Regions from separate parts of the Homo sapiens genome. Here regions 2, 3 and 4 are each linked to region 1. The links are contacts of gene promoters, found by promoter capture Hi-C in blood cells and fetal thymus (Javierre and others, 2016). All regions are on one chromosome and are shown on one strand. Each heading gives the region's core, a stretch centred on a gene start or on the middle of the fragment in contact. The rest is flanking DNA. Distances are from core to core; before and after follow the strand shown. Region 1 holds the start of LAMP2 (lysosomal associated membrane protein 2). Region 2 has its middle 9.4 kb from the start of ZBTB33. Region 3 holds the start of C1GALT1C1 (C1GALT1 specific chaperone 1). Region 4 overlaps TMEM255A (transmembrane protein 255A).

Region 1 (7,672 bases), core at 4,519-7,018:
AGTGCTGGGATTACAGGCATAAGCCACCGCACCTGGCTCATAACATTTTAAATGATTTGATTTTTAATAATTTACATTAATTTAAAACTCATTATTACAAAAAAAATCCATTCGTTGTACAACTTTACTGCAGAAATTAATAAAAATCTCTTCTCCTTCATCTTTTGTTTTTGTTTTTGTTTTTTTTTTGAGACGCAGTCTTGCTCTGTCTCCCAGGCTGGAGTGCAATGGCACAATCTCGGCTCACTGCAACCTCTGCCTCCCGGGTTCAAGCAATTCTCCTGCCTCAGCCTCCTGAGTAGCTGGGATTACAGGCACCTGCCACCACGCCAGGCTAATTTTTGTATTTTTTTTTTTTTTTTAGTAGAGACAGGGTTTCGCCATGTTGGCCAGGCTGGTCTTGAACTCCTGACCTCAGGTGATCCACCCTCCTTGGCCTCCCAAAGTGCTAGGATTACAGGCATAAGCCACCATGCCCAGCCCTCCTTCATCTCTTAACCCCATTCCCCAGAGGACAGAGAGCCCCTGCTGAGAGTTTGAGATCTCATTACTCAGAATGTGGTCTCCAGACCAGCAGCATCAGATCACTAGGGAAGTTGCTAGAAATGCAGATTCTTGTGTCCTATCCCGGAGCTGTTGAACTTCACAGTGGGGCCTAGTAATCTGTGTTTTAATAAGCCCTCCAGTGGTTGTGATGCATAAACCATTTTGTTTTAGCAGATTGGATCAGATCTTTTGGCAGGGGAGGTTGAGAATACTACTGGCCAGGAGAACAAACAACTCAAAATGGCATGTTTCCATTTATCCAGAGAACTCTGGCTGAAGAGTTGGCAGCCCCTTGAGCCCACTGTGACCTCGCTGTGGGGTTGAGCGATGACCATACTGTCATCCAGACAGTAGATATTAAAGGTATTATCCAGAAAAAAGGGACATGCCAGAAGGAGAAAGGAAAAAGAGGGAGGGTAGGAGAAACTAAAAAAAGGATGAGTAGGGAAAGGAAAAATGGGGCAGATAAAAAGATAATGCAAATTTAAAAAGTAAAGATTTTTGGTGGCAAATAGATGACACCAATACCTCAGGGGCACTCATTTATTTATTTTTATTATTTATTATTATTATTTTTTGAGACAGGGTCCCACTTTGTCACCGAGGCTGGAGGGCAGTGGCGCGATCTTGGCTCACTGCAAACTTCGCCTCCCTGGTTCAAGCAATTTTTGAACCTCAGCCTCCCGAGTAGCTGGGTTTAAAGGCATGTGCCACCACACCCAGCTAATTTTTGTACTTTTTGCTAGAGATGGGGTTTCGCCATGTTGGCCAGGCTGGTCTTGAACTCCTGATCTCAAGTGATCCATCCCTCTTGGCCTCCCAAAGTGCTGGGATTACAGGCATGAGCCACCGTGCCCAGCCCATTTATTTAATAACTATTTATTATTCTTCCATTCTAAACTTCTGCACCTTTAAGTTCATTTCCTCTGCTCATCCCCACATTTCATTGTCTATCATTTACCAAATCTGATAGGGTCATCATTTCTTACACCATTCAGTATGTTGACATGTAGGGAAATGTTTGCCAATGATTTCCTGCTCTTTGGCCAAAAAGTCATGCACTCTCAAAGGTGCTGAAAAGAGTCTTAATCTACCTATGATGGTAGGGGACAGTGTGGGGGGACTGCTGAGGAGTTTGTGCACTGGGGTGGTATGAGGTATATTCAGGAGCGCACATAAAAGCACCCTAGATACAGCGGTACCAACAATCAAGTCAACCTTTGTGAAGCTTAGATCGGAGGGGATCTCACAGATTTCCTCAAACACTAACCCCAGTCTCACGTATACATCTGCATCTACCACCGAAAGCCAAGGAAAAGCTCCTTCAATCTGGGGCAGGGTAATGGGAGACTGTATAAGAAAAGGGATCTTTCTCACAGTGTTTTTTGGAGAAAACATTAAACATTTCTGAGTATGGAAGCTCAGTGCAAACAAAGACTTGAGAATTTTTAGCCTATTTATGCTGACAAAATACCCAGCATGTATCTACAACTTTCAAAACATTGTTGTGTCTCACGACGATGCCTGTCCCAGTCAAGGAGCCAGCATTTGTATTTGCCTGAGGAAAAGGTTGTGATGGGGGTGAGGGTGGATTTCGCTTGTAAGGCTGCTCATATTTCACTGTGTTTATTTTTTTAATTTGATGACACCTTCAAGAGATAAAGGGCGACAATTTATTACACCAGATATTTGACAAATTGGGACAGTATTTTATTTTATTTTAATTGTTAGAGACAGGGTCTCACTCATTTGCATAGGCTGGAGTGCAGTGGCGCCATCAAAGAGCACTGCAGCCTCAACCTCCTGGGCTCAAGCGACCCTCCCATCTCAGCCTCCCTGGTATCTGGGACTACAGGTGTGCACCACCATGGCTGGCTATCCTTATATATAAATATATACATATATTTTCAGAGACAGGGTCTTGCTCTGTCACCCAGGCTGGAGTGCAGTGGTGCAAACATGGCTCACTGCAGCCTCCACCTCCTGGACTTGAACAATCCTCTTGCCTCAGCCCCCAAGTAGCTGGGACTACAGGTGCACGCCACCACCCCCAGCTAATTTTTAATTTTTTGTAGAGATGGGGTTTCACCATGTTGGTCAGACTGGTCTCAAACTCCTGAGCTCAGGCAATCTGCCTGCTTTGGCTTCCCAAAGTGTTGGGATTACAGGTTTGAGCCACTGCACCTGGCCAATTTTAAATAAATGAGCATTTACTCACATAGAATCCTTGAATTATAAACCTGATGCCAACTTAGAGATCATCTGAGGCCCACCAATATTGTTTTGGGGAGTTTTGAGAAAAACACCATGCCCAGGCCTGACTTCAGATAAACTGAATCAGAATCTCAAGGGATGGGACCAAGGGGAATTTTCCACTTTTAAAGCTCCACAAGTGATTCCAACATGCAGCCAGGATCAAGAAACAGCTCTAGTCTCATTATTTCATTTTACCAATAAAGATATAGAAGTTCAAACAGATGAAGTGACCTGCCTAAGATCACACTGCCAGTAAGTGGTGTCTCACAACCAACTCCTCTGACTGCTAACCCAATGTTCTTTCCACTATGTTCTTTTTTTGTTTCTTCTTATAGAAAGAGCTTAGGGTTTTACTGAACATTAAAGTTATGCGATTTACAATTGAAAGAGAAGAGCTAGAGTCCAGGAAGTATTGGTGGGGCATCTTCAGAGGGCTCAACTCAGTTGTGGGTTCTCTGAAGACTACTATGCCCAGGACATAGCTCCTGCCAAGTCTCATTGATGGCAGTCAAAAGACATTTTGCTAAAGGCAATGACTAACACTGTATGCAGTGTTCATTAGTCTTGTGTTGGGTCACTTGTTCACAAATTAGTTTCACCTATGGTAGTAAACATTCATTGACAAATGTTCTCACTTTCAGGAATTAATTACATTAAAGCAAACAATAGTGGGGCAGATCGGTGCTTCTTAATATTTGAATTAGGGTAGGGGTTAGGGCAAGGAGTCACAGGTCCCATTGGAGAACTAGTGAAAACTACAAACTTCCCCACAAAAATACACATACATAAATGTTGCATGTAATTTCTGAGGATTCACCGACACCTCTCCCATCCTGTCTAAACTCATACATAAACTCCAGATTAAAATCTCCTGGACTAGATGATTTTGAAGCTCTCTTTCAGTGTTTTTCTCAAAGTGTGGTCCATGGACCACAGAATCAGAATCACTTGGGGTGTTTGTTAAAGAAGTGATTAATAAGACTGCCACAGACCTACTGTTTCAGAATCTCTGGGGAATGAGGTACAGGAATCTGTATGTTAAAAAAAAAAAACCCAAAACCAGATGGTTCTTTTGGAAACTAACACTTGAGAATCAGTGCTTTATTCCAACTCAAGATTTTTAAATGCTTTCATCTGTTGAATATTTTAGGTTTTGTCTGTTCATCTATCAAGTATAGCAAACAGTATGCTTAGTATGAACTCATTACAGAATATTTGTGTGTATGTACATAGGAAAAATATCTGGAAGTATAGATGTGGGTGTGTGTATATATGTGTGTAAATATATATAATAATGTTAATAGTAGGAATACAGATGATCTCTATTTTTCCGCTTTATCCTTCTGTTTTATTTCTCTCATTTTTTTCTTCCTGTGTTTAAAAAAGATGCTTCTTGTTTCTGAGCTCAATTCCCCCACCTGAGAACAGGGTGCTGTAACTAGGTGAATTTCAAGATCATGTCTTGTTCCGATGGTCCGTGACTCCATACTACCCCCTAGGTTCCCTCGTCCATCTCACAGCATGAACTGCATAGGTAACAACAGTGTTTGGAGAATAAGCATGTATTATTTTTGTATGTATTACGTTTGAGATGCCTAGCAACCGTTTTTGTGCCCGCAAAATTTTTCTCTTCTTTGTCAAGGAGCCAAAACGGAAATAGTCTACTATCTACGGCCCTCAAAAGTTCCTCCTCTCTCCTTAGCCTTAGAAAATACCGTCCGCCATAGGCATGGGCAAAGACCTCATGGCTAAAACACCAAAAGCAATCGCAACAAAAGTCAAAATTGACAAATGGGATCTAATTAAAAGAACTTCTGCACAGCAAAAGAAATTAGCATTAGCGTGAACAGGCAACCTGCAGAATGGGAGAAAATTTTTGCAATCTACCCATCTGACAAAGGTCTAATATCCAGAATCTACAAGGACCTTAAACAAATTTACAAGAAAAAAACAACCCCATCAAAAAGTGGGCAAAGGATATGACCAGACACTTCTCAAAAAAAGACATTTATGCAGCAACAAACATGAAAAAAAGCTCATTATCACTGATCATTAGAGAAAGGCAAATCAAAACCACAATGAGATACCATCTCACGCCAGTCAGAATGGTGATTATTAAAAAATCAGGAAACAATAGATGCTGGCGAGGCTGAGGAAAAATAGGAATGCTTTTACACTGTTGGTGGGAGTGTAAATTAGTTCAACTATTGTGGCAGACAGTGTGGCGATTCCTCAAAAATCTAGAACCAGAAATACCATTTGACGCATGCACACGTATGTTTATTGCAGCACTATTTACAATAGCAAAGACTTGGAACCAACCCAAATGCCCATCAATGATAGACTAGATAAAGAAAACGTGGCACATATATGCCATGGAATACTATGCAGCCATAAAAAAATGAGATCATGTCCTTTGCAGGGACATGGATGAAGCTGGAAGCCATCATCCTTAGCAAACTAACACAGGAACAGAAAACAAAACACTGCATGTTCTCACTCATAAGTGGGAGTTGAACAATGAGAACACATGGACACAGGGAGGGGAACAACACACACGGGGGCCTGTCAAGGGGTGGGGGCCAAGGGGAGGGAGAGCATTAGGAGAAATACCTAATGCATGTGGGGCTTAAAACCTAGATGACGGGTTGATAGGTGCAGTAAACCACCATGGCACATGTATACCTATGTAACAAAGCTGCACATTCTGCACATGTATCCCAGAACTTAAAGTAAAATTAAAAAAAAAAAAAAAAAAGAAAGAAAAAGAAAAAGAAAATGCCGTCCGCGCATATCTCTCAGGAGCATAGGAAGGGCTGTGAACCAAAAAGCCAGGGCGTGGTCGCCCCGCCCACCGGCCGCTACATCACCACCCCTCTCGCCGCTTTCAAGCGCGGAGATTGGCTGTAAGCAAGAAAGAGCCCCGCCCCTAGTCTTATGACTCGCACTGAAGCGCCGATTCCTGGCTTTTGCAAGGCTGTGGTCGGTGGTCATCAGTGCTCTTGACCCAGGTCCAGCGAGCCTTTTCCCTGGTGTTGCAGCTGTTGTTGTACCGCCGCCGTCGCCGCCGTCGCCGCCTGCTCTGCGGGGTCATGGTGTGCTTCCGCCTCTTCCCGGTTCCGGGCTCAGGGCTCGTTCTGGTCTGCCTAGTCCTGGGTGAGTTGTCGGGCCCTCCCGATTAGTCTGTCCGCCTGGGCCCGGGGCACCAGTTCAAAGCTACAACCTGAAAGACTGGTCCGAGGGGGAGGGGGTTGAGAGGCTCAGCAGCTAACACTGGGCGGCGGCGGTTGGCCCGGGGAGGCAAGCGGTGACCTAGAGAAGGCCTGACCGACGGATGGCGGGGAAGAAGGGCCCAGGAGAGTAAGAAGGGGCCGGTAACGGGGGGTGGACGCCGAGGGAGTAGGCTGGGAGGAGTGAAGCGTGGAGAGGGTCAGCGTGGAAAGAGTAACTTGGGGAAAACACTGAGGAGTGAGCGTAGGAGGGTGGTACATGCAGATTTTGGGCGCCAGAGACAATTAGGAGAGTCTTGGTTTGCTGAGATCAGGGAAGAGTTTTGAAGATGGTGGAAAAACTATGGGGTGAGATAGGAAATTAAGAGAGAAGACCATGCCTGCCTGGAGTAGCTTGGGAGAAGTGTGTGGGTGGGGGACAGATGGGACAGATAGGACAGTAGAGCCTGAGGGGCAGGGGCAGTGACAGGGTTGGGCATTTTGAAGGTTGGAATTTGAGACTGTGAAGAAAGGATGATTCAAGAGATTAGGAGTGATGCTGGGTTTGAGTTTGGTAGTCATAGTTTTAAGGGCGAAGGAACCTAAGGTAGCTGGGGCAATTTCCAGGAAAGAAAACTTGGACCCAACCTCTGGAGACTAAGGGGTTCAGGGGGAACTTTGATGGGGAGTGCACATCTGACTTGGAGGTATTGAGGATGTCGATTTTCTCCCAGTTTTGCTACTTCCTCCCAGCCAGACGCTGACAAAAAAATCCCCAGACGTTTCAGTTAGGAGGGCCTCCCAGATGTGAGGTTTTGGGGGTGGAGTATTTGAGTTTGGTAGACTACCTCTTTGCCTTCAGAGTTTCTTCTTTTCTTTCTTCCCCATCACACAGCTAGCCTATTACCTCATATTTTGGGGGTGCAGGGAGCAGGTAGACAAACTTGCTAAGGATTGGGTTGTTACCAGGGCCTAAGAATGGCTGGATGGGGCCGGGCGTGGTGGCTCATGCCTGTAATCCCAGCACTTTGGGAGGCCGAGGTGGGTGTATCACCTGAGGTCAGGAATTCAAGACCAGCCTGGCCAACATGGTGAAACCCCGTCTCTACTAAAAATACAAAAATTAGCCGGGCGTCGTGGCACATGCCTGTAATCCCAGCTGCTTGGGCGGCTGAGGCAGGAGAATCGCTTGAACCCAGAAGGCGGAGGTTGCAGTGAGCCAAGATTGCGCCATTGCACTCCAGCCTGGGCGACAAGAGTGAAACTCTGTCTCAAAAAATAAAAATAAATAAATCAATAAATAAATGGCTGGGTGAATGTTCGCTGATTGTGTTGTGCCCTAATAGGCAGTGGGTCGCTAACAACTTTAATGCCTAAAAGTGAACTTTGACTAAAGTGTCTCTTCCTGACTTTGATTCATGCTGTGCTTGTTGCTACCCACCTGCTCTTGCTATTTGTGACTTAATAAAATAACATAAAGAACAGACCCAGATGGGAGTGGGGAAGAAATAGACATATTAGGGGTCTGAGAAAGCAGTGAGAGGTATACATTTTGTAATTCACATTTCAGTAGAATGAAATCAACACCCTGGAATAGTGATTCTCAACCAGGGGACATTTGGCAACATCTGGAGACATTTTTGGTTGTAACAACTGGGGGA
Region 2 (7,162 bases), core at 2,412-4,911, 230 kb after region 1:
AAAGCCGCCCGTTCCCCGCTGGGGCGCAACTCTCACTGGAACTCTTGTTCTCTGACTGGGGAATGGAATGGGCTCAGCCAAGGCTCCCGAAACCAGCCCTGCCGCTCCCAGTTGTGGTCGCATTCTCAAGAGCGGCTGACTGCGCCGTGGACCATCACTTTCGCTTCTGCCTGCTCTTGCGCCTATTGCGGCAACTACTCACGCTCCTACGGGACGAGGAGAGGGAGGTGAATCCGTGGCAGAGGTGAGTGAGATCATGGCTGCACCTTCGCTCTAAGGAGCCCACTTGCCTTCAGCGAGTCCGCTTCATCTTTCAGCCCGCTTCTGACCATTTGCATTTCGCTCCTTCTACCTTCACCGCGCCCATTTTCATCCTTTTCTGCAATCTATCCACGACAGCTCCTTGTTCGCCCCTCTCCTCTCTCACATTCTCACTCATCCTTGGGCCCCTTTGTAGGGTGCCCCGGTCTCCCTCCACCCTCTTTCGCCTCTGATCTCGGAGCAGACACGGCTAAGGGTCACAGACCTACGTATAGCATTTATTTGTTTTGTGTTATCGTTCGTGAACATATTTTTATTCTCCACTAGACTGAGCTCGTGGAAAGGAGGACCCCTATTTTATTCATTACAGAATTTGCAGTGCCTGGCACTTAATAGGGGCTCAATCTACTGAAAGTGTTGTGTGTTGAGTGAATGATCGGTTTGAGATCCTAACAGGCTAACTAAGTGGAAATTCCTTGTAGGGAGTTGGAAAGGGTTGAGATTAAGGGTTTAAATTGGAAAGGAGAAATACCTTCCTCTGAGACAAGATAACTGGATGAATGTAGGCAAAGTGATGTGCTAAACTGCAGATGTGGCTACCTTCAGGAAGGTCTTAAGTGGTCTCAATCTTGACCTTGAAGAATGAGAGGAGAGTGAGATGAGTTTTCCTCTAATGAGAGTGAATATTGGAGTGGGAAGTAGATGGTTTGAGAAGGAAAATAATTATAATTATTGCTGTGTAAGTACTCATATCAAATGTTTATTGAATGTGTCAGGTACTATACTGAGTGCCTTACATGCACTACGGTTAAAAAATGAGAAATTTTAAAACATTACAGGTATTGAGGGGTAGGTTGAAATTCCAACAGGTGGGAGATGTCTTGATGAGTCTTTTTCTTCCACTAGTGGGATGTAATAAAGCATAGTGATGAGAAGGACAGCCTCTGGATTGAGACTTTCTGAGTTTGAAGCCTTGCTTTGCTACTTAATACCTATGTGACCTTGGTAACCTCTCCAAGCTTCATTATTTTTTCACCTGTAAAAGGGGGATACAAATAGTACTGACGTTTTTAGGGTTATTGTAATGATGTAGTGCCTTGAACGTAATAAGCATTTCACAGGTGTTGGTTATTAGAGTTTCATGCCTGGGAGCAGAGGAAGTAAAAACAGTCCTGAGTTAGGTTACAGATACACATTTTTTGCCCATGTGGGAGAGGTGAGTGAAACTACTGCACCTGTCCTCTGAGGAGCGCTCCTGCCTTTGGGATGGAAAGGTCCTCCCAGTTTGTGTCAATCAAAAAACTTCTTATTTTAGAATCCTAACCAAAACATATAAGAACAACTTGGGTAAAATTTGCATTTGTGCACATAGAAGATAAATAATTTATCTTAAGGCACAGATAAAACCAGGTAGCAGCAGGGAGTGTTATAATTGTCTGCTATTCACCATGTTGATGAGGGAAGGATTCCCACCCTTTGTGTTATGGAGTAGCTGAACACAGGACAGATGAGATCAACAGCAGTTTATTAATCACATATGTTCACAGCTGGAATGGGAGAGAACACAGCGTGCCACGAAGGGCCACACCGAGGTTGCTGTTGGTAAGACAGTGAATAATCAGGGGCTGTGGGAGGTAGACTTTGTGGTATCAAGAAATTGAGGTAATACCTGCTTTCCCTTGGAAGGATATGATTGGCTTGTTTGAATAATTCCACAAGCTGACAATGTACTAAAATCTGCTACCCAGAGATAAGCTGGAACTGCGTCTGGTCTCTTTGAGAAGGAGGGTCATTTGGCTAGGGGACCTTATTTGCAGGAGCAGAATGGAGAGGAGAATTCGCAGTAAGGCCATTGGGAGCCCTCCTGGTTTCCCCAATTGTCAAGGTAGTACACAATATTGGGCCTTAATTTTGTGCCTCACACCACAAAGACTGTGTGTCTTTATAGTCTGGCAGGCATCCTTGGTCCCTATACTCATATTCCAAGAACTGTTAGACGTATGTTTACTTTTTGATTACCTGCTCTTGAAATGGGAAACCCTCTGAGACTAACTCTGTATACTTATAATACCTTTTCCCTGAATAAAGAAGTAAAAAATATTTATTCAAACAATGAAATCAAACATTTATTTTATAAGGATTTTTATAGACGTAAGCAGCTAAACTTTGAGGAAATTGAACCTCTCTTAGTTTATTTTTTTCAGCTTATGAGTAACAGCAAAAATTAAAACAATAAATGACAAACATTATAATACAATAAAAAATTAGTGTCCTCCAAAGAACAGATAGGTAAGGTACTCTTTTTTAAAAAGGAACTAAAGGGAGTCTAACATACCTAAGAATTAAAACATGTTGCTAGTGCATTTTAGCATGCTAATTGTTTTCTTTAAATTGTATTCATGGGGTGCTAATTTCCTATTAATAGAGGAGTTCAGTGTTAAAACAGATAATACATTTATATTTTGATTTTTTTCTTCAACCCAGGAGCAGATTGCATTCCAGACAATAGTATTACACAGCGATTTTTAAAAAATGCAGATGCCAGTGTAGTTCGGTTTAGTTAATTTTCCTGTATCCAATACTATGTGAAATATTAGTACTTTTTTTTTTTTGCTTATTTCTTTTCTCTTTGGTGTTGCTCATAAGTTTCTTCTTCCCTCTCCTCTATTTCTGTGTTTAGGTTGAGTTGAGGCAATGTGTTTCACAGGTAAACCTGTAATTTGTGACAAGGTGATAAAACATTATTATCTGAAGTGTATTCTTATAGATACCCTTGGTAAATGCTTAAAGGACCTGAACTCATAGAATTAGAGTCAGAAGGAACCCTAAAAATAATTTTCTAGGCAATACCTAAATTATTGCAGATGTGATCTTCAAAGGGAAAGATTATATAATATAGAAAGTCCCTTTCTAAAGTATTGTAGAACTTTATTTATTGATTTATTTGCTTTCTTTCTCTTTCTTTCTGATGCGGGGTCTCACTCTGTCACCCAGGCTAGAGTGCAGTGGCACGATCATGGCTCACTGCAGCCTTGACCTTCCCAGCTCAAGTGATCCTCCTGCCCCAGCCTCTCGAGTAGCTGGGAATACAGGTGCACACCACTACACCCAGCTAATTTTTAAATTTTTTGTGCAGAAGGGTCTCACTATGTTGCCCAGGCTGGTCTTGAATTCCTGGGCTCAAGCTGTTCTTGTGCTTTGGCCTCCCAAAGTGCTGAGATTATAAGTATGAGCCACCACGCCAAGCCTACTGTAGAACTTTAATAATACTTATTTTAAGAATTCTCTGCAACAAAACAAATACACACACACACACACACACACACACACACACACACACACAATTTTTTACCGTGACATAGCCTCAGGTCCTGAGAACATGTGTCCCCCAAATCTCTTTAGATTGTAGCTTCTTAGGATCTTCTTGCTCTGAGGAGACAGAACAGTTGCTGCTCTACCATTTGTTTTTTACATGCTTAGAATAAAATTATGATATCTTCTTCAGACTTTTTATATACAGTTTCTTTCATCTTTCCTTCTGATTCTGTTTTCTCTATTTTTAGCCTGTGATTTCTTCTGAAAATATAAATCCTCCATGCTGCTTTCAGTTTGAGTAGTGCTTTGTAATCTGTAAAGCATTGTGCAAATGTAAGTTATTTTATTATTATGAAGGTGGCAGACCCTTGAACTGTATTTATTTATTTTTTATTTTATTTTATTTTTAGGCAGTCTTGCTCTGTCACCCAGGCTGGAGTGCAATGGCATGATCATGGCTCACTGCAGCCTTGACATCCCAGGCTCAAGTGATCCTCCCATCTCAGCCTCCTGAGTAACTGGGACTACAAGAAAGCACCACCATACCTGGCTAATGTTTTAAATTTTTTGTATAGATGGGGTCTTGCTATTTTGCCTAGGCTGGTCTTGAACTCTGGGGCTCAAGTGATCCTCCCACCTTGGCTTCCCAAAGTGCCGGGATTACAGACATGAACTGTATTCTTATGAAAGAAGTCCAATGCTTGTTTTTAATGGTTCTTGGACAATTGTCATTGTTGCTGAAAAGTTTTAAGTCTGTGTTTTTATACTCTATGGTCCATATTTCATCACTTTTCTAATTCTTATAACCATTTTCTTTAAATTCAGCTCTGCTGAACATATTGAAGTAAAGAATGAAGAGCCAAAGAAATGCACTACTTCAGTTTCTACATCAGAAAGTATTTTTAAGATACAGACCTTTCTTGAGAAGTTAGAAAAAGTTTATAAATAGTTAAACATTAGACTTTACTTTTATTCAAATTGCCTATCATCTATTCCTTTTCAGTATTTCAAATGCAATAAAATTGATAATCAGAAATACTTTTTTAGAAGTTACTTTTTTATTTATATTTTTACAGAAAAATAGTAGTCTAGTCATTCAAGTGAAAGGTCCAAGAAAGGAAGAAAGAAAAATTTATCAAAAAGAAAACACAAGAAGTATTCTGAAGATAGCGACAGTGACTCTGATTCTGAAACAGACTCCAGTGGTAAGAAAGCCAACAGCATTCTGCAAGCCTTGCTTCAAAACTAGTTTTATTTCTTAAAACTTATTTTAGAAGAAGGTTCCTGAAAACACTAATAATACTGAAGAGTTTTTGAACGCTTGCTAACCTTGTGCCAGGCATTCCCCATAAGTGCTTTATATTCATTATTACCATCTAATCCATAAATAACTGTTGGGTACATCTTATAGATGAGGAAATGGAGACAGAGCAGATTATAAGTACTGTCCCCAAGGTCATACAGTTGGGATTCAAACCTAAGCAATCTGACTCCAGATTGGTTGTGCATAGTTGTACAAAGCACATGGCACCAGACCAAGTCAGGGGATTGGGCTGTACCAAAGTAAGCCTTACAGGGCTGCATCAGCCCAGTGGAAGGGCTCATTTGTGTAATTCTCGTGCCCAGTGGGCACTGCTGTACAGTTTTCAAAAAGGCACTCCCTTTAGACTGGCTGCCAATTTATGGAAGGCACCCCATCTGGGGTAGTGCATCACAAAAAGCCACCTTTTTTACGCCCTCTCCTGTCTAATGATTGACCAGAGGGTGCTTTCTCTTGGTTGGCATATTCCACAAAGGCTCTGCTTCCTCTGATATTGCCCCAGTTTCCTGGTCCCCAATGTCACTTTACTTCCTTGCCACTGGAAAACCAAACTTTCTTAAAGCACACATCTAAGCATGTCAGTGCCATACTCAAAATCCTTCAGTAGTTCTCCATAGCCCTCAGGGTAAAGTTCAGACCCTGACTGATCCTTCTCTAATCACATATACCCTGTCACTTTTTGTTGCACCATACTCTGTGGCCTGAAAACTTTTTTTCTTTCTTCCTTTCTTTCTTTCCTTCTTTCTTTCTTCTCTTCTCTTCTCTTTCTTTTCTTTTCTTTCGTGCCTGCCTGCCTGCCTGCCTTCTTCTTTCTTTCTTTTTCCTTTTCTTTCTTTTTTTTTTCAGGGCCTCCCTCTGTCACCCAGGCTGAAGGGCAGTGGCTCGATCTCTGCTCACTGCAACCTCCACCTCCAGGGTTCCAGTGATTCTCCTGCCTCAGCCTTCCGAGTAGCTGTGACCACAGGCATGCGCAACCATGCCCAGCTATTAAAAAAAAAAAAAATTGTAGAGATGAGGTCATGCTGTGTTGCCTAGGCTAGAACTGCTTTCTGTCTCCTCAGTATTCCATGTTCTTTCTCTTGACTCTATTGCTTGGTAGAGAGGCCCTCTGCCTACAATACCAGTCTCTTCTTCCAACAAGCTTGGCTTACTCATTGCAACAATGGATTTTGTAATCAAATAACTACTCTCAGAGCCACCTTTCTTGGTCAACCATTCCTCAACCCCCCTCCTCAAATCAGTTCTGATTTTGAGACTCCTCTGTGTGTCCAGAGCACCTCAAGCTTCCTTATGTCACTCTGGATTGTATCAATCTCTTTACCTATTTGTCTCCTCCATTAGACTGAGCTCCTAGAAAGCATTCTCCTTCCCCACTCCAACACACACATAGTTTTCTTTCCCTTTTTATCATGGAAATCTTCAAATGTTCAGAAAAGTAAAGGGAATAGTATAATTAATACTATATACCTTAGTACTCAGGTTTAACATTTGTTAGCATTTTGACATGTTTGCTTCAAATATGGATTTTTCACTAAGGTATTCAAAGTAAATTACAAATGTCATCACATTTCACTACAAAATATTTCTGTGTATCTCTTTAAAATGATATTTTCCTACTTAACCATAATACCATTAACTTATGAAAAAATTAACATTAATTTCTTATATCATATAATACCTAATGTGACTTTAATAATATATATATCCCCAGTGCCTAGCACAGTTCTTGACAAATAGTAATAAATGTTTGAATGAATAAATTTCTCTGTAACAACAAATGAGAAACAGCAAAAGCATATTTATTTACTCAAAAGTATTGAGGTTTTAGAGGTAACTTTTTAAAAATTATAATGTGTTTTAATTTGCAGATGAAGACACAAAAATGAGAGCAAAGACAGCTAAGAAAAAGGAAAAGAAATGCAGATGGCCAGATTTTTTCCTTTAATTTTTATTATGGAAAAGGTCAAATGTGTATAAACATACATAGAATGGTATAATGATCCCTCAGGCACGTAGCACCCAGCTTGAACAATTAACAACTTGTGGGAAATTGCCATTGCCCCCTAATTAATTTGAAACCAATCCCAGGTATAATGTCATTTATAAACAATTCAGCATGTTTCTCTAAAAGACTGTTTTCTTTATTAGTCTGTTTTCACACACCATAAAGACATACTTGAGACTGAGTAATTTATAAAGAAAAGAGGTATTGATTCATAGTTCTGTATGGCTTGGGAGGCCTCAGGAAATTTACAATCATGGCGG
Region 3 (7,690 bases), core at 3,623-6,122, 160 kb before region 1:
AAATAATTTGTATGCCAAACCCCCAAGACATGCAGTTTACCTATATAACAAACCTGCACATTACCCCTTAACCTAAAATGAAAGTTAAAAAAAAAAAAAAAACTGCTGGCTTGACACAGTGGCATACGCCTGTAATCTCAGCACTTTGTGAGTCCGAGGCTGGAGAATTACTTGAGGCCAGAGCTCAAGACCAGCCTGGGCAACACAGCAAGCCCCTGTCTCTACAAAACATTATCCAGGGTGGTGGTGCCTGCCTGTAGACCCCATATTTGGAAGGCTGAGGCAGGAGGATTGCTTGAGCCTAGGAGTTGGAGGCTGTAGTGAGCCATGATTGCACCACTACACTCCAGCCTGGGTGTCAGAGTGAGACCCTGTCTCTAAACAAAAACAAAAAACAAAAACAAAAACAAAAACAGAAAAACAATAATGCATTTGCCCCTATTTCTGTGGGAGAGATCACTAGAATGGGTTTGCTGGGCCAAAAAGTATGAACATCTTAATTTTAATAGATACTAATTGCACATGTTTTTTAAATTAAGGCTGAGATATGGAATGTTGTTTTAAAAAAAACGCCATTACTGGCTGGGCGTGGTGGTTCACGCCTGTAATCTCAGCACTTTGGGAGGCCAAGGCAGGTGGATCACCTGAGGTTGAGAGTTGGAGACCAGCCTGACCAATGTAGTGAAACCCTGTTTCTACTAAAAATACAAAAATTAGCCAGGCGTGGTGGCATGCGCCTGTAGTCCCAGCTGCTCGAGAGGCTGAGACAGGAGAATTACTTGAACCTGGGAGATGGAGGTTACAGTGAGCCAAGATCACATCACTGCACTCCAGCCTGAGTGACAGAGTGAGACTCTGTCTCAAAAAAAAAAAAAAGCCATAAGTCAATCATCTCACTAACTTTATTTAAAATGCTAAGTATATGTAAGTTATTTGTCAAGTAAAGAACTGGGTTCTTAGACAATTTCTTATTAACAGAGCTTTTGGTGTTGAAAATCCCATGGTTTATTCTGTCTCAGAGCATCTTATGTCAATTTTGTGTGTGTGTGTGTGAGACGGAGTCTCGCTCTGTCACCCAAGCTGCAGTGCAATGGCATGATCTCGGCTCACTACAATCTCCGCTTCCCAGTTTCAAGCGATTCTCCTGCCTCAGCCTTCCAAGTAGCTGGGATTACAGGCGTGCGCCACCACGCCTGGCTAATTTTTTGTATTTTTAGTAGAGACGGGGTTTCACCGTGTTAGCCAGGATGGTCTCGATCTCCTGACCTCAGGTGATCCGCCTGCCTCGGCCTCCCAAAGTGCTGGGATTACAGGTGTGAGCCACCATGCCTGGTCTCTTGTGTCATTTTTTAAATAATATTTTTTAAAATTACCAACCACTATAAGAAGCGCTGCTCTTATATTATTAATACTTCCAGTTTGGTATACAGTACTTTTCTATACTAAAAGAAGAATCATTTTATTTTTTTCCAGCTTTATTGAGGTATGTTTGACAAATAAATGTATACAATTAAAGTGCACAATGTGATGATTTGCTATATGTATACACTGTGAAATGATTACCACAATCAAGCTAATGAACATATTCATCATCTCAAATAGGTGCCCTTATTTTCTAGGAGAAACATTTTATATTGCCTCTTCATCACAGTCTGAATTCTGAGTGTCATTTCTGTCCTTCCTGGTCCCTTTTTGCGAGGACAGAGTGGTTCTCTGCATTCTTTAAAAGATATTTTTATTGGTATCTTTTCTTTTTTTTCTTTTTGTCCCTGTAATTTTAAGGTCCTTTTATTTGCTGGTCTTCAAATTCAAAATAGGTGCTTGTTTATAACCAGTGAAACAATGCAATACAAGGATGTATAAAGACAAAGCTAATCATCCCCACCTCAACCTCCTGATGTAATCAATATTAAGAGCTTGCTGAGTATTCTTCCATAACTCTCTTTGTTCATACGAACAGATCAAACCTATGTGCACGTTTGTTTCCACCAAAACATAATCATATAATATGCAGTATTCTGCAATTTGTTTCACTTAACTATATAGGTATATATACATACATACATATATATTTTATATAATATGTGAAATAGACTATATTACTTAACAAAATATAATGAAAATATTCCACGGTCTTAAATTCTTTTCCAGTTCTAAAATTCATTTTTTCTTTTCCAGCGGGCCCACTGTCAGAAATAAAATTCATTTTGGTATTCCTTTAGAAAACATACCACCATTATAATTATTTGTAATAAATTGTTTAATGTCTTTCTTCCCCACTTGACTGACAGCTCCATGAAGTCAGGGTACTTATTTTGCTCACCACTGTATCTCCAGATTTTAAGATAGTGTTGCCAGGATAGTAACTACCTACAATATATTTGTTCATTGTTTCAGAGTTCCCTGAAACCTTCAGTCTACTTAAACTAGGTCACTGACAACACTCAAATACATGTGTGTCTTTAGGAACTCAGGCCCGAGTAAGTCACCACTCAATTTTATCTTAATGGAACCTAGTAACAATACACTTTAAATAATTGTAAAAATTTGGGCTTTTTAGCAAAAAGCCTTCTGCCACAAAAATGAATTTTTTTTTTTTTTTTGAGATGGAGTCTTGCTCACTCTCCCAGGCTGGAGTGCAGTGGCACGATCTCGGCTCACTGCAACCTCCACCTCCCAGGTTCAAGCAATTCTTCTGCCTCAGCCTCCCGAGTAGCTGGGATTACAAGCATGAGCCACCACGCCCGACTAATTTTTATTTTATTTTATTTTATTTTATTTTATTTTATTTTATTTTTTTTTTTTGAGATGGAGTCTCGTTCTGTCGCCCAGGCTGGAGTGCAGTGGCGCTATCTGGGCTCACTGCAGGCTCTGCCCCGGGGTTCACGCCATTCTCCTGCCTCAGCCTCCCGAGTAGCTGGGACTACAGGCGCCCGCCACCTCGCCCGGCTAATTTTTTGTATTTTTAGTAGAGACGGGGTTTCACTGTGTTAGCCAGGATGGTCTCGATCTCCTGACCTCGTGATCCGCCCGCCTCGGAGTCTCGCTCTTTCGCCCAGGCCAGACTGCAGTGGCGCTATCTCGGCTCACTGCAAGCTCCGCCTCCCGGGTTCACGGCATTCTCCTGCCTCAGCCTCCCGAGTAGCTGGGACTACAGGCGCATGCCACCGCGCCCGGCTAATTTTTTGTATTTTTAGTAGAGACAGGGTTTCACCGTGTTAGCCAGGATGGTCTTGATCTCCTGACCTCAGGTGATCCACCTGCCTCGGCCTCCCACAGTTTTGGGATTACAGGCGTGAGCCACTGCGCCTGGCCAAAAATGAATTTTAAAAGACAGATCGGTGGCTCACACCTGTAATCCCAGCACTGTGGAAGGCCGAGGCGGGTGGAACACCTGAGGTCAGGAGTTCGAGACCAGCCTGGCCAACACGGCGAAACCCCGTCTCTACTAAAAAAAAAAATAATAATAACCAGACGTGGTGGCGCACACCTGTAATCCTAGCCACTAGGGAGGCTGAGGCAGGAGAATCACTTGAACCCGGGAGGCAGAGGCTGCAGTGAACCGAGATCCCGCCATTGCACTCCAGCCTGGGCAAAAAGAACGAAACTCGGTCTCAAAAAAAAAAAAAAAAAAAAGAGACACATCAAATATTTCGTGGAAAGAGAGCTCTGCACTCTTAATTAGAAGACCTGGGGGCCGTGCGCAGTGGCTCAAGCCTGTAATCCCAGCACTTTGGGAGGCCGAGGCGGGTGGATCACCTGAGGTCAGGAATTCAAGACCAGCCTGGCCAACCCCGTCTCTACTAATAATACAAAAATTAGCCGGGCGTGGTGGCGGGCGTCTGTAATCCCAGCTGCTAGGGAGGCTGAGGTAGAAGAATCGCTTGAACCCGGGAGGCAGAGGTTGCAGTGAGCCGAGATCGTGCCATTGCACTCCAGCCTGGGCAACAAGAGTGAAACTCCGTCTCAAAAAAAAAAAAAAAAGAGACCTGGATTCCAGTCCCACCTCTGCCATTAACTTGCTGTGTGGACTTTTGAAATTTCCTTATCCTTTTTAGGCCTGGTTCCTCAGCTGTAGTTCTAATATTCATTAATTCCACTAATATTTACTGTCCACTGCGTGCTGGCACTGTGGTTAAGTACTAGAAATACTGGGGTGAATAATAACAGCCAGTACTTTTTAGTAAATGCTTACTCTAGGCTTGAAATTTTGCTAAGGGAGTCATATGCACTATCTCATCTAATTTTCTATGAAATAGGCACTACTGTGACATTTTCTGTACTTTACAAATGAGGGAACTGAGGCACAGCGAGGTGAAATAACTTTCCTGGGATATCAAAAGGTGTGGTGAAGACAGGATTGGATTCCAGGCAGTGGGGCTTCAGATCTCATTCCAGTAATAATAGGAAACCGTTGGTGTCATAATTACGTGACTATTTCAGTGGCTTGCGTTTTGGTCTCAGCCCAGGAGTACTGGGGGGGTGGGCAATATGAGGGTTCAAGGACGCAGGGGTACATCAGAGAAACCATCAAGAGGTCTGATAAAAAGCGACACCGGGAGCAAGAATCTCTCGCTCTCGCAATTTCCATGCCAGGAAGGTGAAATGGGAGGTGTCAGCGAGTCGTACGCACGGCCTCTTCTCTGGACGCCCGTTGGGTAAAGGAGAGCGTCCGGGTCACGCAGGCCTATAGCAAGTCTCTGAACTCGGCAGGGGGCGGGGAGAAAGGGCACGCAGTGTGCGCGCAGCGGGCGCGCCGGCCCTTCCGACGCCTGCGCGGGCGGGCAAACGGACGGCTCCGCCCAGCCGCCGGCTCCTTTACCCCGCCCCACTACCCCCGCCTTCGCGGCGCTCGTTTCCTGGCGCTCCCCACCTTTAGCGAGACCAACGAGAGAACACCGCCTGCAGCTAGAACAGCCTGGTCAGGAGCGTAACGGAGTGGTGCGCCAACGTGAGAGGAAACCCGTGCGCGGCTGCGCTTTCCTGTCCCCAAGCCGTTCTAGACGCGGGTGAGTGGCGGGGCCTCGACCCCCACCCCAAGCGCACCCTGACTCCCCTCCCTCTCTTGGGGGAGGCCTGGGCCCCAGCCCTCTCCCAGCATGCTCCACGCGGGATGCTTGGGCAGGTGCAGCGGGAGGATTGTCAGCACAGGAGACCGAGAGTCTTCTTCCTGGGGGCGCTCTCTTGGTCCCTCAGAGGGATATCGAGGTTACCATGTCCTCCCTCTCACTTCTCTTCCCTATTTCGTCTTCGTTTTCCGTACTTCACCCCAACTACCTTCACCCAAAAAGGTTCATCTAAAAACCATTGGGGTAGTTTCTGTTTCATTTGTGCTCGTGTGCAGTTTTGTTTCCTTCTGCACAAAGTATCCTATCATATGCATCCCTAGTGTTATATTTTTTGCCTCTGTGATGGGGAAAAAATCTCCTTAGAATAATTTTTGCAAATTATTTTATTTAAAATGTGTAGACTTACTGAGTTTTGATCACTATTTTTGCAGCCAGGAGTAGGATCACCATCAGGAAGAATTCTGACACATATGCCATAATTGAGCAAAGAAACATGTGAATTATGTATTGGCCAGAAATAATGAAAACTGCGTGACATGAAATACAAAAATCCTATATAAATTAATCTTAGAGTGCACCTGACAATTCTTTTTCTTTTTTCTTTCTTTCTTTCTTTTTTTTTTTTGAAACAGAGTCTCGCTCTTGTTGCCCAGGCCGGAGTGCTGTGGTGCGATCTTGGCTCACTGCCTGCAACCTCCGCCTCCCGGGTTCAAGCAATTCTCCTGCCTCAGCCTCCTGAGTAGCTGGGATTACAGTCATATGCCACCATGCCCGGCTAATTTTTGTATTTTTAGTCGAGACAGGGTCTCACCATGTTGGCCAGGCTGGTCTTGAACTCCCTACCTCAGGTGATCCACCTGCCTCGGCCTCCCAAAGTGCTGGGATTACAGGCGTGAGCCACCGCACACAGCCGACAATTCTAATATTATGCCGAGCTTGTTTTCTGTCACTTCTCTTCTTGGAACTGTGTTTATTGACCAAGTTCTGTGAGTGACACAGGAAAGTCTTCCTGCCTCTTGCCCCACCCACCGCTCAGAAATTACATCTGCCAAGCTATTCCACACCTTGTCTTTCTGGTAGAAGTCAAAATTCCATTTCCTCTAGCAGAAAACCACAGGAGTGGTTTCCTTGTAGCAATATGGTGCTGTTGGGTGCAAAATATCAGTTATGGTCAACAGATCCCACTTTTTTCCCATTTGTATGAAAACAAGGATATTCAGTAACCCATTTATTAAACTCTAATGTGGTAGAAGCACTATGGCAATTATTCTTCTGTAATGGAAAAAAACCATTAAACTGATATTGAGAAATGTGGTTTCTAGTCCACTTATACCACTGTCTAACTGTGTGACTGAGTCAGTTATTTAACCTCTGTGGACTTCCATTTCCTCTCTGTAAAATGAGAGAAGTGACTGACATTGGGTAGTTTTCTAAGGCTCCTTTCAACCATAAGAGAAAACTGGGAAGTCTAAGTAGCTCAATAGATTGCTTTTTTCTGAAGATGGAGGGAAGATTGGAAAATTCAGCCTTTACTAGAATAAATGGTTAACATACAATTTTTTTCAACAAGTTTATTTAATGTCAGCTTTTAATTTCTTTTATTTATTTATTTTTTCTGAGACAGAGTCTCACTCTGATGCCCTGGCTGGAGTGCCGTGGTGAGATCACAGCTCACTACAGCCTCCGCTTCCCAAGTTCAAGAGACTCTTGTGCCTCAGCCTCCCGAGTAGCTGGGATTACAGGCACCCACCACCACGTCTGGCTAATTTTTTGGATTTTGGGTAGAGACAAGGTTTCACCATGTTGCCCAGGCTGGTCTCGAACTCCTGAACTCAAGGGATCCACCCACCTCAGCCTCCCAAAGTGCTGAGATAACAGCCATGAGCCACTGCACCTGCCTCTTAATTTCTAATTGAAATAAAAGTGTAAATTTTTCCATTTTTACTTCCCCAAAGAAGAAGAAAATTCCTTTTGAGGAAATGAAAATGTTTATTAATGGGCCCCAGATATATCTATCAATATTCCTTTTTGATCCAAAAGATGTAACTTTTTATTATGGGCTTCTATTACATCAATAGTTGGGATACTGTATTGGAAACCATTTAGTTTTAGGAACAAAAGGGTAAATATTAACCTATATGGTGTTATTCTCAAGAAACTTGGTTTAGATTTACTCAAAACACTTAAGGACAGCAGCCATCAGTTAAAGAAAGCACTATGTTGAGAACAGAAATGTCAGCACAATACCATTGGTGATTTGCCATTTATAGGTGGTTTTATCTGTTCAACCCAAGGTTTTGGTGTAAAAGTTCACTATATTTTTAGAGGTATTTAAATAATGCAAGCTTGTGATGTGAAATTCTTTAAAGAGAATGGTGGATGGATAACCTCTGTAACACTGGTTTCAAGGGTTTATTAAATCCCCATAGATGAAGTGCAAAACAAACTTCTCCATAGAGGAGTTGTTGCAAAGTTCCAGTTTATACCAAACAGTAATCAGATTCCATTGGAAGCTAAAGATTTTGAGAGCCTTTTGTACTATATGCAACTAACTTGATTTCAAGCTTGGGAACCTTTTAAAAAAAACATTAAAAGCAAAATGTAAGTATATAAGGAATACC
Region 4 (7,347 bases), core at 739-3,238, 160 kb after region 1:
CCCTCAGCGATCTTGTGTTTCTCGAAAGGTCTGCGCAACAAACAGCTGAGTGGGCTTCGCCCAGCCCAGTCTCCACACTGCGGGAAAGGAATCATAAATCCCAGATAGAAGCGGAGCCGGCGCCACGCATTCCACTTTTTGAAGTCCGCAGACCGACGGCACTGGCAAATTCCTGAGTCCAGTGCTAACGCTGGGTTTCCACAGTTTGGACAGGGGAGTCTCCCCGGAGTTCCCTGGCCCTGGTCCCGCACAGTCCGGGCCTGAATCAGCGTCTAGGCTACTTAGGAGCTACTCCCACTTAGCTCTGGCAACACCACCTTCCCTTGCGTGGGGGGAAGAGGACAGTGGGTAGGTAGGTTAGTGTTTCAGCCTCCAAGGGCAGCATTTCTGAGGGGACTCCCTTTATTGTCAAGACACAACCGCAACCAAAACAATAAAATTTAAAACACGCAGACACACTGCACCAAGGTGCCTGCACTCTACGCTTGCTGGCTGCCTGGGAATAGAGCAGTGCGTCCAAGGCTCAGAGTGGAGCAGGCGCTTTGCAATTAAGAAGATGGTAATTTGACTCCAGTGTCCCCCCATCCCCTCCCAGCAACCCCCTTCTCCCTTTTGGCAACACCGCCCCCAGGCGCAAAGGCACCTCTACTACAGTAGGGCATTCCTTCCTCCCAAATAACACATTTGTAATTCGCGGGCGGCCTCGGATGTTCTCCATTCAGAGAACTGTCTAAAGTGGGGAGGGATGGATTTCAGCGCCTTTAAGGAAATGTTTGGGAGATTGGCAGGGTCTTGAGGCCCTTGTGTGGGCAGCCACTTGTTTCTAGGGATACTCAAGGCTGGGATATCCGGGGACCCACCCTGTGTGGCAAAGCTGACTCAGGTAAGCAAATCCTAATCGGTTCAAAAGATCAACCCAGAGAACTAGCCAGGCATCAACAACACCGTGTACAGGACAGGATACTGGGTTCCCAACTTTTCTGTGCCCAATAAAGATTATACACCTTATCTACTCTCTTGGGAGAGGATAATCAAGAACGTGTGCAAGGTAAAACAAAGTAACAGAGACAGCATCCTACCTTCTAGCAACTCACATCTTGGTTCCCTCAGATACACAATCCTGGGACTGGCAGATATCATATGGGTTGTGGACCAGACCCACGGTTACAATTGTAATGGTACCAGTTACAATTAATATACTTATTGAGTAAGGTACCTGGGAATTTAGGGACATGAATAAGTGATTAATTTTGATCAAGAAAAACTTTTTGGAGGAGGGGAATTTTGAGCATGTTTCAAAGGAAGGGAGGCACCCAGGTTCAAAGACCGCAATGCAGATGGGGGCTCTGACCAGGGGGAATACCCGGATGAGAGAAAAGCTGGTTGTTTTTGGAAGGGTGGAGATAGCAAATAATTGGGTGCTTCTAGAGCTAAGCATCCTGGTCATCAGGAATCTGGGGTGGAGGTGGGGCACTGCAGAGAGGGAGGGCTGCAGTAGTTCTGCAGGGAGGCTGCTGAGGAGGGGCAGGCAAGGCCAATGAAAAGATTTCAGACTCTCTCACTGCTGTTGGTTGCAGAGGTGGTTGTTGTTTAAGCAGAAATATACTGGGTGCCAAGGAGACAGAGTAGTGAGAGATATTGTAGTTTTCACACTAGTTAGCCAGAAGGCTTTTAATTTGAGGGAACCCTCAGGTGTACCCTACATTAAAAAATCAATTCTATGAGACTAGCCCATATTTATTCACACAATTCCTCCCACATCCTTCTTGATTAAAAGGGAAACAATTCTGAGATGTTGCCTCTTGTTTATTCAACAAGTACCGATTGTTTATTAGGTATCAAACACTAGGTATAAATCGTAATAGGCATGATTTTCATATACCTGCTGCTTTATTTAAGTACCTCCTGGTGCCTGAGTTTTTTTACGTGTCACTTTACTAAACAAAATCAGAATAAGATGGTCCTGTGTTTACAGAAACATCTAAGGCAAGCCCCAAATTGTACCAGAATAAGAACACGGCTGTACTTCTCCCTTCTAAAATAAAACAACCACCAGGAAAATGTCCTAAGCAGACACAATAAACTGCCTTTTAGGAGCCTGGGCCACACCTTCAGAAAATGGGTATATCTTGCTCTAAGTAGATGTGAATTTTATTGAGTCGAATTGACACTAAAGATAAATTGAGGGGTGATTCTTCATTTTCAAAACGAGTCACCCTGGGAGGGGGTTTTCTTAAAACAGTCAATTCCCCAAGTGCAACTAGAAATAATTTCATGTTACACAATTATGGTCCTTATAAAATAAGTGGTGACAGGGAAGGACGCTCGTGAGGGGACAGAGATTAGATATTCGACCTGGTGATCAGAGAGTTTTCTTAGGAATTTTATCCAAAGCAAATCCTATCTGGAGTCAAGGCCCCTGTGGGGCTGTGGGATATTTGCCTGGGTTGCTCAAGTGACTGAATTTTCAATTCAGGTTCTAAAGCAGGAAAAAAGATTTTCAAATGACACTATGTGGTTTGCTGAGTCACTTTTCTGACCTGGCTCTTCCTGCGCTTTTAAAAGTTAGAGTGATATTTGCAAAGAAGACCCAAGAGCTGTGAATAAGATTAAAGGCCAGCTGGTGGGGAAGGAGCAGGCAAATGAAACAAACAAACAAACAAACCAAAATTAAAAAGACCATGCATGCACACACACTTCTCCAATTTAGTCTGTCAGGTTACATGTTTTCTGGGTAAGGTGTTGAGACACTTCCATATCACAAAGATATCCGTGGTGTATCCAAATGTTCTCTCACTCTCTTTTGCCAGTTTGGGGCAGGGGAGGGCTAGAGATTGTGTGAGTGACAAAAGAGAAGGGAAGACAAGAATGGGAGGCAATGTTGGTAAGTTTATGTTAGAGCCCCTCTGTAGAACCAACTCACAGATTCACTGAGAAGTATCTATCATCAAATAAACTTAGGCACCCTGGTTTAGAGACTAATTTAGGGTCCCTCAAAATCAAGAGGAAGGATAACTAAACTTCAGGTAACCAGAAGAAATAAATCCTGGCCTTCCCCCAACCCTCTACTATTCCTTTCCCAGTACCATGCAGTCCAGAGCTCCCGGCTTTGCTCCTGTGTTTACCATTAGTCAGCTCCCATTTGCATCCCTAATAGCCCTGTCATGAAAGGGCCCCGATGTTACAGGTGTCTCTAGTGGGCCTTTATGTTTTTGTCCCATGGAGGCTGGACTCAGGTCTCTTTAAAGATGAGTCTCATTTGCCAACTCTTCTTACCTCTTCCCCAGGGTGAGACATGGTGCTTTAGCATTGTAGATGCCTATAAACGTTCAAACCACTTCTACATTTCAACGAAAAATAGTCTTAGATTAGTCCCATATTAGAAATGACCCTGATGAGTCACATCCCTCATTTTCGAAGCTGACGTCAGGGGAGACCGCCTGCCCCTCCCACCTCCCTTGGAGACTTCAGCAGGGACAGTACTGGGGAAGACAGGATGGATGGTGGGGTTAAGCCCGGGTGATACTCCCAGTGCTTTTCTTCCATACAGGAGGGGATATCTGCAGTGGACTGCAAGGCCAGCCACAACCCCTCCCGTCTCACCACCACCTTGCCTCCTGGGTCTCGCTTCGTTTCCTTGACCTCGTCCCCCTTCCTCCATCCCCTCTCCCCTCCCTCTATCCCCTCTCCCCTCCCTCCCCATGGAGCAGTCTGCATGGCTTCTCTCAACAACTGCTTCCTGAGGCTGCAGTGAGGTCTCCCAGAATGACAGGGTCTTATGGACAGACTCAAGTGATCTCTTTAGGGCCATAAATGACAGTCAAGCCACGTGGGTGGGCGACTCCATCAGGGCTCCTCACTGCTTCATCCTCCTCATGCTCCAAACCTCCACTAGAGAGCTAGACTCTTCTCATTTGCTTATTTTTTTTTTTTTGAGAACTCCTAGGTAGTAACTCTCCCCTGGTTATTTCCTGTTGAAGGCCCTCTCCCTATGCCTGAGAAATCCCTGCAGAGTGTGAGACAGTGCTCGGTTCCTTTAAAAAAAAATAAATTAAAAAGTGAGCCTAGATACCATTTTTCTGTCTGACTTAATAATCCTGTTTTCAAAAAAATATTGGTTTGCACTATCATGTCTGATAAGCCCTGAGTGGGAGAATGGGTTTCTCATCATTTATGTTTATGTCACCCTCACATAAGCCTAAATGTGTATAAGTTATAATCCTCCCCACCTAACTCCCCCGATACATATCTTTGTGGACTAATGGCCTCCAAACACTCACTTTATTACACACATTTGTTATGTGACAAATCTTGCCAATACACCATTTTAAAGTTTATACATGAGGTGGCAAATGTCAGAAATAAATGAAAAAAAAATCCCAGTAACTTGGCTTGGCTGTGATATTTACACTGAAAATGAAATTTCATATCTCTAGCTTATGAAAAAAATCTTTTTAGTTGGATATTGGCTTTAAAATGTTTTCATTTAATACCCCCTCCCCCACACACACACTTCCCATTTATCATATGCCTTCTAATTTGGTCTAAAAAACCACTCTACTAAGTAGTTGTGACACATCTCTTACAGAGTGCCAGGAGCACAAAAATTCGTTTTGTTTTTACGTAACTGGTGAAATTTCTTCTGTTGTTTATTTTCAAATTGGAAATACATATTTTATTATAAAAGTGGCACCTGATGACTACAAAAAATAATGCTCTATCCCTTCCCCACAACCCCCCACCCGTCACCACCAAAGATAACTTCAGTTACCGGTAGGAATAGGAAAGGAAAACCTTCTTAGTGTTTTTTTCTTTAAGTCAATCCTTTCCCCAGCTGAAATGAGCAATTTTAATTTCTCTCTGTGCTTTCAGGAGCATTCAATCGGAGGAAACGAAACTCCATCTATGTCACCGTGACTTTGCTTATTGTGTCCGTGTTAATTCTCACAGTGGGCCTTGCTGCAACCACCAGGACCCAGAATGTGACTGTAGGAGGTTATTACCCCGGAGTTATTGTAAGTATAGAAGGCACAGGTAGGTCGCAGTAGCTTGCTGTCTACAGAAATTCTGGCTCTGCTCTGATAGTTTTCAATTCTGTTTGAGTGTCTAGTGTTTGCTCAGATTTCCTCCTTTGTATCTCTGTATATTTATGTGGAGAGGCAACTCTGGGCCCGCTAAGAAGAGCACTGGACTGAGAATCAGAAGAATCCAGCACCATCCCTATCTAACAGTGTGATCCTGAGCAAGTCATCTCACTCTTTAATACCTCAGGTTTCTGGTTTAGGAGATGTTACCAGCAGTGTTAACCTTAGGCTAAGGTCCTTTCTCTCCGGGCATCTGCATTCCCATATATAATAGAGGTCATCTGATCTCACCTGAAATCTGAGGATCCTGGCAGCTTGACACTCTGACCAACAGCACTGATCTCCAAAGTGATCCTGCACTCCTATCAGAAAAAGCTGTGGAAGATATGTTCCTAAAATATGTATATTTATTCACTTATAAATTATATATATACATGTTCATAAAACTTATATAAAAATGAACATTCAAAAATTAGATAAAAATAAGTATACAATAACTTTTAATATCTTCATGTGAACACAAACTAAAATGTCACCAGATAATATGCACTTAGTGTGAAGCTTGTCATTAAAGACAGTGGCTTTAAATCCTTATTTCAAATGGCCCACTAGATAATTGTGAATATTTTTGGCTGCCTTCTTATCCCATATGATTAGACTGTCATTGGAGTCATGTTTTTAAATGTCAATATCACAATTTGGCTGCCAAAAATCTACCCTGGGAGTTAGAAGTATTAAACTCTGCCATTTTCTTGTTGCTTACGTTTGCTTACATTATTAGGGTCATCTTCAACTTCTGGTTTCTCAAGAGGAATCTTTTCAAGCCTCTTATCCATTTTGTTGAGACTAGTTTCGTTAAAATTGGATAATACAATCCAGGCACACATAAAATGCCCCACCATCAACCGTTTGTTGCTTGGAACTTGCCCTCCTCCAGAAGGATAGTTCACCTGATCACCTGACATTCACACGGACAGAGGGTGCCAGTGACAGTCTGTTTATTAAATATTAGTAATGTTTGGTTTCTTATTATTTTAGATAAACAATAAATAGGAAACAGCCGTATTCCAGTGGATTGTTTTATCTACCCTAGGGTGCATGCAGTTCCCTTTGGAGACTGCTAAACTAGTTGCATTAGAAAAACCAAAACCTAATTTGAGTCTACGTACACTGCTGTTGAACCCAAAAACCTAACTCTAGAGGTGAGATCATATTTTAAACACCAATTAAATGGCTCCTCAATTGTTAGAGAGCAGAAGGACCTTTAGGACAATTCAGTTAAGAAATATTTTAGTACAGCAAAGAGGTCAGATGTATTTTTTGTTGTTGTTTTGTTTCATTTCTCTTTGAAATGAAATGAGAGAGAGAGAGAGAGGTGGGGATTGGAGAGAGAAGCAAAGCGAGAGGGGAGATTAAAGATGATGCCTTGGACAAGCCAGAGCTATAAGTGACCAAGCCTGGAGCCTGTTGCCTAGGTCACTGATTTCATTCCACAGTCAGCCTCCTCAATAGCTCTTGAGAAGCTGGGACCTAAAGTGGGCTGCAGGCTATGCCTTCCTGGAGCTGAAGGCTGCTGGGGGAAGTGCCTCCACAGCTCCAGGGCAGGCAGGGCTCCTCCCAGCTGAGGGCAGGTGACCCACAGACACTGTTTGGTGCCCTGTGTTAAACATGTGATGTGAGAACTCACCCAGTGCACTTCCTGTGGTGAGGCAAGAAAACCAGTCGTCAGCAGAATTGGGTTTTATTTTTAAACACAAGCAAAGCCGGTGGGGGGTCGGGGGGTGGGTGTGCAGGGAGGAACAGAGGGGGTAAGATAGCATTTCGGTGGCTTGGAAAAGCAATTTATAGGGTCTGCTTGACTTTGTGTATTTCAGGTAGCTGCATTAGTAAAATATTTCTGACTGATGAGCAAATGCTGAAGCCAAGATTTAGAGTCTCTGTGGGTGAGGGGAAGGTATTTTCCATGTTATTTAAGAGTATGAACTCCTATTCATAAACAGTGGCTGTGAACCTTCTCTGTGGAATATCTTACTGTGGGTGGCTAGGTTGGAATACGTTAACAAAGGAAGGAGGGTGCCTGATTGCTGTTATTCAAGTACCTGATGTTCAGCTAGCACTAGAAGTTGAAGCAGTGGGGGCGTGTGTTTGCGTGTGAGTGGTTCACTAAGAGCTAATATGGAAGTGTTAATAGGAAAGCCATCCCTAACGGACACTGTGCCCCCATGATTTAACCTTTAAAAATGTGCTCTCATAGTTCCTGGAG

The links. The method cuts DNA at HindIII sites, captures the fragments that hold promoters and counts their contacts. A CHiCAGO score of 5 or more calls a contact.
Region 2: a fragment that was not itself captured here is called in contact with the fragment with the promoter of LAMP2 in region 1 in 16 of 17 cell types (neutrophils, M0 macrophages, megakaryocytes and 13 more); the score reaches 8.7 in neutrophils.
Region 3: a contact is called between the fragment with the promoter of C1GALT1C1 here and the fragment with the promoter of LAMP2 in region 1, in 3 of 17 cell types (neutrophils, monocytes and naive CD4 T cells). The highest score is 7.1, in neutrophils.
Region 4: a contact is called between a fragment that was not itself captured here and the fragment with the promoter of LAMP2 in region 1, in 11 of 17 cell types (naive CD8 T cells, M0 macrophages, megakaryocytes and 8 more). The highest score is 9.7, in naive CD8 T cells.

What each region holds. Positions count from the first base shown.
Region 1 is chrX:120,467,392-120,475,063 of GRCh38, reverse strand. LAMP2 (lysosomal associated membrane protein 2) reads left to right here and starts at 5,768. Exons shown (of 9, transcript NM_002294.3): 1 at 5,768-5,958. The coding sequence starts at 5,895. RefSeq lists a silencer at 5,566-5,830. The HindIII fragment of the contact is 7,034 bases long and covers 1,777-7,672 here.
Region 2 is chrX:120,237,846-120,245,007 of GRCh38, reverse strand. It overlaps the pseudogene NKAPP1. Among named protein-coding and RNA genes, the nearest start is that of ZBTB33, 9.4 kb to the left of the region's middle. The HindIII fragment of the contact is 4,758 bases long and covers 1,283-6,040 here.
Region 3 is chrX:120,627,236-120,634,925 of GRCh38, reverse strand. C1GALT1C1 (C1GALT1 specific chaperone 1) reads left to right here and starts at 4,872. Exons shown (of 2, transcript NM_001011551.3): 1 at 4,872-5,009. RefSeq lists a silencer at 4,635-4,904 and an enhancer at 4,564-5,491. The HindIII fragment of the contact is 14,165 bases long and covers 1-7,416 here.
Region 4 is chrX:120,302,017-120,309,363 of GRCh38, reverse strand. It overlaps TMEM255A (transmembrane protein 255A), which reads left to right. Exons shown (of 9, transcript NM_001104544.3): 2 at 4,873-5,015. Among named protein-coding and RNA genes, the nearest start is that of TMEM255A, 5.8 kb to the left of the region's middle. The HindIII fragment of the contact is 7,318 bases long and covers 1-5,647 here.